Regions from separate parts of the Homo sapiens genome. Here region 1 is linked to region 2. Evidence: promoter capture Hi-C in human tissues and cell types (Jung and others, 2019). All regions are on one chromosome and are shown on one strand. The core of a region is centred on a gene start or on the middle of the fragment in contact, and the rest is flanking DNA. Distances in the headings are between cores, read along the strand shown.

What was found. The method cuts DNA at HindIII sites, captures the fragments that hold promoters and counts their contacts. A contact is called where the count stands out against the background at its distance.
Region 1: a contact is called between a fragment that was not itself captured here and the fragment with the promoter of ABCB5 in region 2, in 1 of the 25 tissues and cell types used here (pancreas).

The regions. Positions count from the first base shown.
Region 1 is chr7:19,590,944-19,595,538 of GRCh38, forward strand. All of the region lies in intron 3 of LOC105375180 (a long non-coding RNA gene), which reads left to right. Among named protein-coding and RNA genes, the nearest start is that of MIR3146, 110 kb to the right of the region's middle. The HindIII fragment of the contact is 4,832 bases long and covers 1-4,314 here.
Region 2 is chr7:20,614,082-20,618,994 of GRCh38, forward strand. It overlaps ABCB5 (ATP binding cassette subfamily B member 5), which reads left to right and starts at 1,586. Exons shown (of 28, transcript NM_001163941.2): 1 at 1,586-1,756. The HindIII fragment of the contact is 19,814 bases long and covers 1-4,894 here.

The sequences.
Region 1 (4,595 bases), core at 649-3,148, 1.0 Mb before region 2:
GTAGGTTGTCTGTTCATTCTATTGATAATTTCCTTTGCTGTGCAGAAGCTCTTTTATTTAATTAGATCCCATTTGTCATTTTGTGGTTTTGTTGCAATTGCTTTTGGCATCTTCATCATGAAATCTTTGCTCATTCCTATGTCCTGAATAGTATTGCCTAGGTTGTCTTTCAGGGTTTTTATAGTTTTGGGCTTTACATTTAAGTCTTTGATCCATCTTGAGTTAGTTTTTGTATATGGTATAGGAAGGGGTCCAGTTTCAATCTTCTGCATATGGCTAGCCAGTTATTCCAGCATCATTTTTTGAATAGGAAGTCCTTTACCCATTGCTTGTTTTTATCAGGTTTGTCAAAGATCAGCTAGTTGTAGATGTGCAGCCTTATTGCTGCATTCTTTATTCTGTTCCATTGGTCTATGTGTCTGTTTTTGTACCAATACTATGATATTTTGTTTACCAAAGGTCTGTAATATAGTTTGAAGTCAAGTAGCACAATGACTGTAGCTTTGTTCTTTTTGCTTATGATTGACTTGGCTATTAGGATTGCCTTGGCTATTAGGGCTCTTTTTTGTTTCTATGTGAATTGTAAAATAGTGTTTTTCTAGTTCTGTGAAGAATTTGAATGGTAGTGTAATAGGAATGGTATTGAATCTATTAATCATTTTGGGCAGTATGACCATTTTTACAATATTGATTCTTCCTATCCATGAGCAAAGAATGTTTTTCCATTTGTTTGTGTCATCTCTGGTTTCTTTGAGCCATGTTTTGTAGTTCTCCTTGTAGAGATCTTTTACCTTCTTGGTTAGCTGTATTCTTAGGTATTTTATTATTTTTGTGGCAATTTTAAATGAGATTGCATTCCTGATTTGGATCTTGGCTTGACTGTTGTTGGTGTATAAGAATATTACTGACTTTTGCACATTGATTTTGTATCCTGAGGCTTTGCTGAAGTTATCAGCTTAAAAAGCTTTTGGGCTGAGACTGTGGGGTTTTCTAGCTATAGGATCATGTTGTCTGCAAACAGGGATAGTTTGACTTCCTTTCTTCCTACTGGGATGCCTTTATTTCTTTCTCTTGCCTGATTGTCCTGACCAGGACTTCCAATACCATGTTGAATAGGAGTGATAAGAAAGGGTATTCTTGTCTTATTCCAGTTTTCAAGGGGATTGCTTCCAGCTTTTGCCCATTCAGTATGATGTTGGCTGTGGGTTTGTTATAGGTGGCTCTTATTACTTTGAGGTATGTTCCTTCAATACCTAGATTATTGACAGTTTTTAACATGAAGGGATATGGGATTTTATCAAAAGCCTTTTCTGCATCTATTGAGATAATCATGTGGTTTTTGTCTTTACTGGTGTTTATGTGATGAATCACATTTATTGATTTGCAGATGTTGAACCAACCTTGCATCCCAGGGATAAAGCCAAATTGATCATGGTGGATAAGCTTTTTGATGTGCTTCTGGATTTGGTTTGCAAGTATTTTGTTGAGTACTTTGCATCAATGTTCATCAAGAGTATTTGCCTGAAATTTTTGTTGTTGTTGTGTCTCTGTCAGGTTTTGGTAGCAGTGTGATGCTAGTTTTGTAGCATAAGTTAGGGAGGAATTCCTTCTCTTCAATTTTTTGGAGTAGTTTCAGCATGAATGGTACCAGCTTTTCTTTGTATATCTGGTAGAATTCATCTGTGAATCCATGTGGTCTTGGGCTTTTTTTGTTGGTAGGCTATTTATTACTGACTCAATTTTAAAGCTAATTATTGGTCTGTTCAGGGATTCAGTTTCTTCCTGGTTGAGTCTTAGGAGGCTATGCATATCCAGGAATTTATTCATTTCTTCTAGACTTTATGGTTTGTGTAAATAGAGGTATTCATAATAGTCTGTGATGGTTATTTGTATTTCTCTGTGGTCAGTGGTAATCTCCCCTTTGTTGTTTCTGGTTGTGTTTATTTGAATCTCTGTTTTCCTCTTTATTAATCTAGCTAGAAGTCTAACTATTTTATTCATTTAAAAAAACAGCTCCTGGATTCATTAGTCTTTTGAATGGTTTTTAATATCTCTATCTTCTTCAGTTCAGCTCTGATTTTGGGTTTTTCTTGTCTGCTGCTAGCTTTGGAATTTGTTTGCTCTTGGTTCTCTAGTTCTTTAATTGTGATGTTAAGTTAACTTGAGAAATTTCTAACTTTTTGATGTGGGCATTTAGTGCTATAAATTTCCCTCTTAACACTGCCTTAGCTGTGTCCCAGAGATTCTGGTATGATGTAACTTTCTTTTTATTAGTTTCAAAGAACTTGTTGATTTCTGTCTTAAATTCAGTATTTACACAAAAGTCATTTAGAAGCAAGTTATTCAATATTCCATGAAATTGCATGGTTCTGAGTGAATTTCCTAGTCTTGACTTCTAATTTGATTGTTCTGGGGTCTGAGAGATTGTTTGTTATAATTTCAGTTTTTTTGCATTTGCTGAGGAGTGTTTTACTTCTGAATAGGTGATCAATTTTAGAATATGTGCCGTGTAACTATAAGAAGAATGTATATTCTGTTGTTTTGGAGTAGAGAGTTGTGTATATATCTCTCAGGTCCATTTGGTCCAGTGCTAAGTTCAGGTCCTGAATATCTGTTAATTTTCTGTCTCAACAATCTGCCTAATATTGTCAGTGGGGTGTTAAATTTTCCCACTATTATTGTGTGGGAATCTAAGTCTCTTTGAAGGTCTTTAAGAACTTGCTTTATTAATATGGGTGCTCCTGTATTGGGTGCATATATGTTTTGGATAGTTAGATTTTCTTATTGAATTGAACCCTTTACCGTTATGTAATGCCCTTCGTTACTTTTTTATCTTTTTTGGTATAAAGTCTGCTTTGTCAGAAACTAGAATTGCAATCCCTGCTTTTTTCTGGTTTCCATTTGCTTGGTAGATTTTCTTCCATCCCTTTATTTTAAAGCTGTGTGTCATTGCATGTGAGATGGGTCTCCTGTAGACAGTATACCAGTGGGTCTGGGTTCTTTATCCACCTTGCTATTCTCTGTCTTTTAATTAAGGCATTTAGCCCATTTACATTTAAGGTTAGTATAGATATGTGTGGATTTGATCTTGTCATCATGATGTTAGCTGGTTATTTTGCAGACTTGTTTATGTGGTTGCTTTATAGTTTCACTGGTCTGTGTATTTTAGTGTGTTTTTAAAGTGTCTGGTAACAGTCTCCTTTTCATATGTAGTGCTTCCTTCAGGAGCTCTTGTAAGGCAGGTCTGGTGGTAATGATTTCCCTCAGCATTTGTTTGGCTGAAAAAGGTCTTATTTCTCCTTCACTTATGAAGCTTAGTTTGGGTGGATATGAAATTCTGCATTGTAATTTCTTTAAGAATGTTGAATGTTGATCCTCAATCTCTTCTGGCTTGTTGGGTTTCTGCTGAGAGGTCTGCTGTTAGTCCGATGGGCTTCCCTTTGTAAGTGACCTTTCTCTCTAGATGCCTTTAACATTCTTTTCCTTTCATTTTAACCTTGAAGAATCTGATGATTATGTGTCTTGAGGATGATCTTCTGTGAAGTATCTTACTGGGGTTTTCTGCATTTCCTGAATTTGAATGTTTGCCTCTCTAGCTAGATTGGGGAACTACTCATGCATGTTGTCTTGAAATATGTTTTCCACGTTGGCTGCGTTCTTCCCATCTCTTACAGGGACACCAATGAGTCGTAGATTCAGCCTCTTTACATAATCCCATATTTCTTGAAGGTTTCGTTCATTCCTTTACAATTCTTCTTTGTCTATTGTTGTGTAACTGCCTTATTTCAGAAAGCCAGCCTGCAAGCTCTGCGATCTTTCCTCCACTTGGTCTATACTGCTATTAATACTTGTGATTGCCTTATGAAATTTTTATAGTGTGTTTTTCAGCTCTGTTAGGTCAGTCACATTCTTTTCTGTACTGGCTGTTTTGTCTGTCAGCTCCTACATTGTTTTATCATGATTTTCATCTTCCTTGCATTGGGTTTCAACATACTCTTGTACCTCAGTGATCTTCATTGCTATCCATATTCTGAATTCTATTTGTCATTTCAGCCACCTCAACCTCGTTCAAAACCCTTGCTGGAGAGGAGATATGGTCATTTGGAGAAAGGATGGCACTCTGGCTTTTTGAGTTTTCAGGAATCTTATGCTGATTCTTCCTCATCTTTGTGGGGTTATCTATCTTCAATCTTTGAAGTTTCTGACCTTTAGATTTTTTTTTCTTTTATCCTATCTGATGACCTTGAGGGTTTGATTGTGGTATAAGGTGAATTCAGCCAGCTTCATTTCTGGAAGATTTTAGGGGGCCAACACTCAGCTCCCAACTCCTGGACTGCATGCTGTAAGTCTTGGGGACTTGTACTGGACCCCAACTTTGTTTCTATGTCTCTTGAAGTCTGAAATCCACTGAACTGTGGGTGGAAGGAGTGGAGGTGCGGTAGCTGTGGCAGAGTGCTAGTGGGTGTCAGGGTGCCTGCCTTCCTGAGGGCATTCACCACAGTGGCAGAAACAATGCTGCTGGGGGTGGGGTAGGAGACTATGGGTGTGGTCATGCTGGAGGTGGCGTTGACTTGGAAGTGGGGTGCTCATGGATA
Region 2 (4,913 bases), core at 336-2,835:
CTTTGTCATTTGTGACAACGTGGATGGAACTGGAAGACATTATGTTGTGTGAAATAAGCCAGAGATATGTGTGAAATCCAAAAAAAGTCAAACTCCTAGAAGCAGACAGTAGCATGGTGGTTACCAGAGACTAGGAGGTGGAGGAAATGGGGAGATGTTGGTCAAAGGGTACAAACTTCCAGTTATAAGATGGGTACAGGATGGTGACTACAGTTAATAATTCTGTATTGTATATTTGAAATTTGCTAAGAGAGTAGATCTTAAGCGTTCTCACCAGACACGCACACACACAAACACGTAAATATGTGAAGTGATGGATGTGCTCATTGCAGTAATCATTTCACAATGTATATGTATATCACATCATCATGTTGTAAACCTTAAATATAGACAATAGTATTTGTCAATTATACATATTAAAGCTGAATAAATAAAATAAATTAATTAAAATTATATAAAACTCAAAATTCAGCTCCCTCACTAGGCACATTAAAAGCGCTCAATAGCCACATATGTGTAGCGGCTAGGATATTGGATGTGTGGAGAATATCTCAATTATTGCAGAAAGTTCTGTTGGATGGCTCTGCTCTAGAAGTAACACTTTTAGCTACATTACACCACTTCTGTGCATTTAGATGACATCATGAGATTTTTAAAGCAAAATTAATTATTCCTTCTGTGCATATGACAATTGCAAGTTTATCTCTAGGTTGGCAATTTTCCTAATTATTAGTGCCACATTTACATCTGTTTGCCAGATATTTTCACTTGGACACCAATATCAACCCAAATTTGCATATTTAAACTGAATGTTACCATTTCCCCAAAACCAATTCTGTCTCATAACTTCTCTATTACCATCTTTACTACTCTTTTGTTACAACTTTTAAAAGTTTGATCGCTGAACTTATATTTTTTTTATTTCTTCTTCCTTGTCCTCTTTACCTACCTACCGCCTTAAAAATACCTCTCAAATAGTCTTACTTACTGCTATCAAACTAGATTTTAATGAGTCTACTTAAATCTTGTGTTTCCCCAAGTCCTTCCAGTATATCCATGGCTGTAATGTCAAATAATCAGGTTAATTGTACCAAATACCAATGGCTTTGTCTCTTTCATTCCAGAAAATTATAAAAGTTGTCCTAAAAATTGGTTCAGTGCCTTTTACAATCGTATGTACCTTATCTCTCTCTCCATTTCTGCATGAACAGTCCATCCTATCCAAACCGTTCTCATTTCTCTACCATGAGATAATTCACCTTGCATTCCTAAAACTATGCCCTTGTTCCTCCTCCACATTTTTCTACTTACTGAAACCTTAGCCTTCCTCCAGAAACTAACCTCAGGGCCATCCTCATCTGTGGGCGAAACCATTTTAGATCACAATGTTCTTCCTCAGTCTTCTTAGATACTAGAATAGTCACTCTTTGTACTATTCATCACATAACGTCTGTCTTGCCAGGTATATTAGGTTCCCCTAGAGAAATAGAATCAATAGGCCGTGTGTGTGTGTGTGTGTGTGTGTGTGTGTGTGTGTGTATGTAGAGAGAGAAAGAGAAAACACGCTCATGTAATTGTGGTGACTGGCACTTCCAAAATCCACAAGCCAGACTAGAAGGCTGGAAATTCTGGCAAAAAATTGATACCTTGTATCTGAAAGCTTTATCCTATCCTCTTCAGAAGACTTCAGTCTTTTCTCTTAAGGACTTCAACTGACTGGATGGGGCCCACTCAAAACAGCATCTAAGGAATTAAAGTAAGTCAAAGCAAAAGTATTAGAGATTATGAAAACAATTGAAGCTTGTGAAGAATATAAAACACTTCTCCATCTTAGAAAGAATAGTTTGTGGTAAAGATGGAAACAAAAATGTGTGTGTATGAAACTTTTTCATAGTCAGAAATGATCATCCTACTATTATTTTGGTCATTTTAAAGCATCCATACAATTCATATCTTCTTTCTTTCTTTCCCTGTGACAGGGTCTCACTCTGTCACCCAGGCTGGAGTGCAGTGGCACGATGTTGGCTCACTGCAACCTCCGCCTCCAGGGTTCAAGAGATTTTCCTGGCTCAGCCTTCTGAGTAGCTGGGATTGCAGGTGCCCAGCACCATGCCCAGCTAATTTTTTTATTTTTAGTAGAGATGGGGTTTCACCTTGTTGGACAGGCTGGTCTCGAACTCCTGACCTCAGATGATCCAGCCGCCTTGGCCTCCCAAAGTGCTGGGATTACAGGCATGAGCCACTGCGCCCAGCCATATCTTCTTTCATCTAACCAAAGATCCCATGTTTTCCATCCAACCAGTATATCTTAGCTATTTGTCAGATTATTCTTACCAAGGATGCTTGAACGTTAAGTGCATCTCATGATTTCTTCTCACATGGGTATTTTGTCCTATGATTTCCATCTTGGTACATGAACCTAGAAATATTTTTTAAGGCAAAAGTCCTTATAAATAAAATATTCTGTCTATTTTTACATTTTCTTGTATGTTCCATAGTACTTGCCATGATAGCATCCACACAGCTGTCAATAAGTAAGAATTGGCTGACTGATAGATTTTGTGTAGAGCAATTAAGATGTTCAGAGTTCTTCTCTCATGTTATCTACTTAGTGCTGGATATTACTACCTGATTATCTCACAAATATCTCAAACTTGACAAGTTTCAAGTTAAATTTATCTTCCTTTTGAAACATTGGGTAACAGAGAGGAACATGGGGGCAGCCATCATAGTCAACCTGTAGCTTTCCATACAGTGAGGACCTGCCAACTGGCTCACAAATTGCTTTGACCTTGTGTCGCTTTGTCTCAGTGCACTTTTCTCTACTATCTAAATAGTATTCCTTCTGCCTGGGATAGTCTTTTTGATCTTTATATAGCAACCTCCTTTTATAATTCAGATTGCAGCTTAAACATTATCTTCTACAAGGGGCTTTCTCTGACCAGATGTATATAAATACCACATTACTCTTCATAAAATTACCCTGTTTTAATTATATACCAAAAACTGACCACTCTCTAATTTTCCTTATTTATGTATGCCTTTTTTTAAAATTGTGACTCTCCCTGTAATGGAGTCTAAGCTCTATGACAGCAAAGATGTCTAGGCTGTTCAGTGCTTAAAACAGTACCTGGCACAGTATATATCTATAGAATGAGTAAATTTTTTTAAAAAATCATCTAATGAGCTTGTTTAAAATGTAGATTTTTTTCCAGTGCATTTCTTTAGATTATCATTCAGTACATGTGGGGCAAGGCCTAGGTAGGTGTCTGATATCTTTAACATGCACTCCAGGTGATTCTGATGCCAGAGGTCCTTTGACAATACTTTAAAACTGTGCTATTAACAGCAGATAAAAACAATATGTTGTCAGCACTAAGGTGTATTTTAAACTTTATTTTTATAATCTTGGATTTAGGAAGATAAAATTTCCTCTAGATAAGTAGTGCCTTCTGTTTCTCAAGGCTTTGTGCTAGATACTATATAGTCATGTTTCTCAAAATTTGATATGCATTACAAACCACTTCGACAATCTTGTTAAAATGCAGATTCTATTCAGAAGTTTTAGAGTGAGACCCAAAAATCGCATTTTTATAATGGATTAAAAATATATAATCTAACTGTATGCTGTCAATAAGAGAATCATTTTAGATCTAAAGGCAAATAGGTTAAAATCAAAAGGATAAAAAGAGATAATCCTGCAAATATTAACCAAAAGAGAGCTGGAATGGTTATAGTAATATCCAGACAAGTTACACCTCAAGTCAAAACCTTTTATAAGAGACAACAAAGAACATTAGATAGTGATAAAACAGTCAAATCACCAAGAAGATATAACAACTATAAGCACACAGCCACAAAATATCACAGCTCCTAAATAAACACTGACAGAAGCAGAGAGAAATAAAAACTTCTGTAATAATGGTTAGAAACTTTAAGATTACCCTTTTTTGCTAACAGCTTTATTGAGATATAATTCACATATCATAGAATGTACCCATTTAAGATGTACAATTCAAAAGTTTTTGTATATTCATAGAGTTGAGCAGCCATCACCACATTCAATTTATAGTGGTTTTATCATCTTGAAAAGAAACCCTGTATCCCTCTCATTAGCTGTCATCTCTATTTCTCCTCCACCCAGCAACTACTAACTTACTTTTTTCTCTATGGATTTGCCTGCTCTAGGCACTTCATATTAATGGAATTATATAGTATGTTGTCTTTCGTGATTGGGTTATTGTACTTACCATAATACTTTCAAGGTTTATTTATGTAGCATGTATCAGTATTTCATTTATATGGCTATCTTCACCTTTTATATAATTTCAACTTTTATTTTAGATTTAGAGCTTACCTGTGCAGGCAGGTTTGTTACATGAGTTCATTGTGTGACACTGAGGATTGAGGTGTGAATAATCCCTTCGCCCAGGTAGTGAGCATAGTACTCGGTAGGTAGTTTTTCAGCACCTTCTCCCCTTCCTCTCTCCCACCTCTGATAGTCTCCAGTGGCTATTTTTCTCATCTTTATGTCCATGTGGACCCAATGTTCAGCTCCCATTTATCAGTGAAAACATACAACATTTGGTTTTCTGTTTCCATGTTAATTCACTTAAGATAATAGCCTCCAGCTGCATTTATGTTGCTACAAAAGATTTCATGGCATATATGTGCTGCATTTTCTTTTTTTTTTTTTTTTTTTTTTTTTTTTGAGATGGAATCTTGTTCTGTCACCCAGGCTGGAGTGCAGTGGCACGATCTCAGCTCACTGCAACCTCCACCTCCCGGGTTCAAGAGATTCTCCTGCCTCAGCCACCCAAGTAGCTGAGACTACAGGCATGTACCACCATGGCAGGCTAATTTTTGTACCTTTAGTGGAGACGGGGTTTCACCATGTTGTCCAGGCTGCTCTC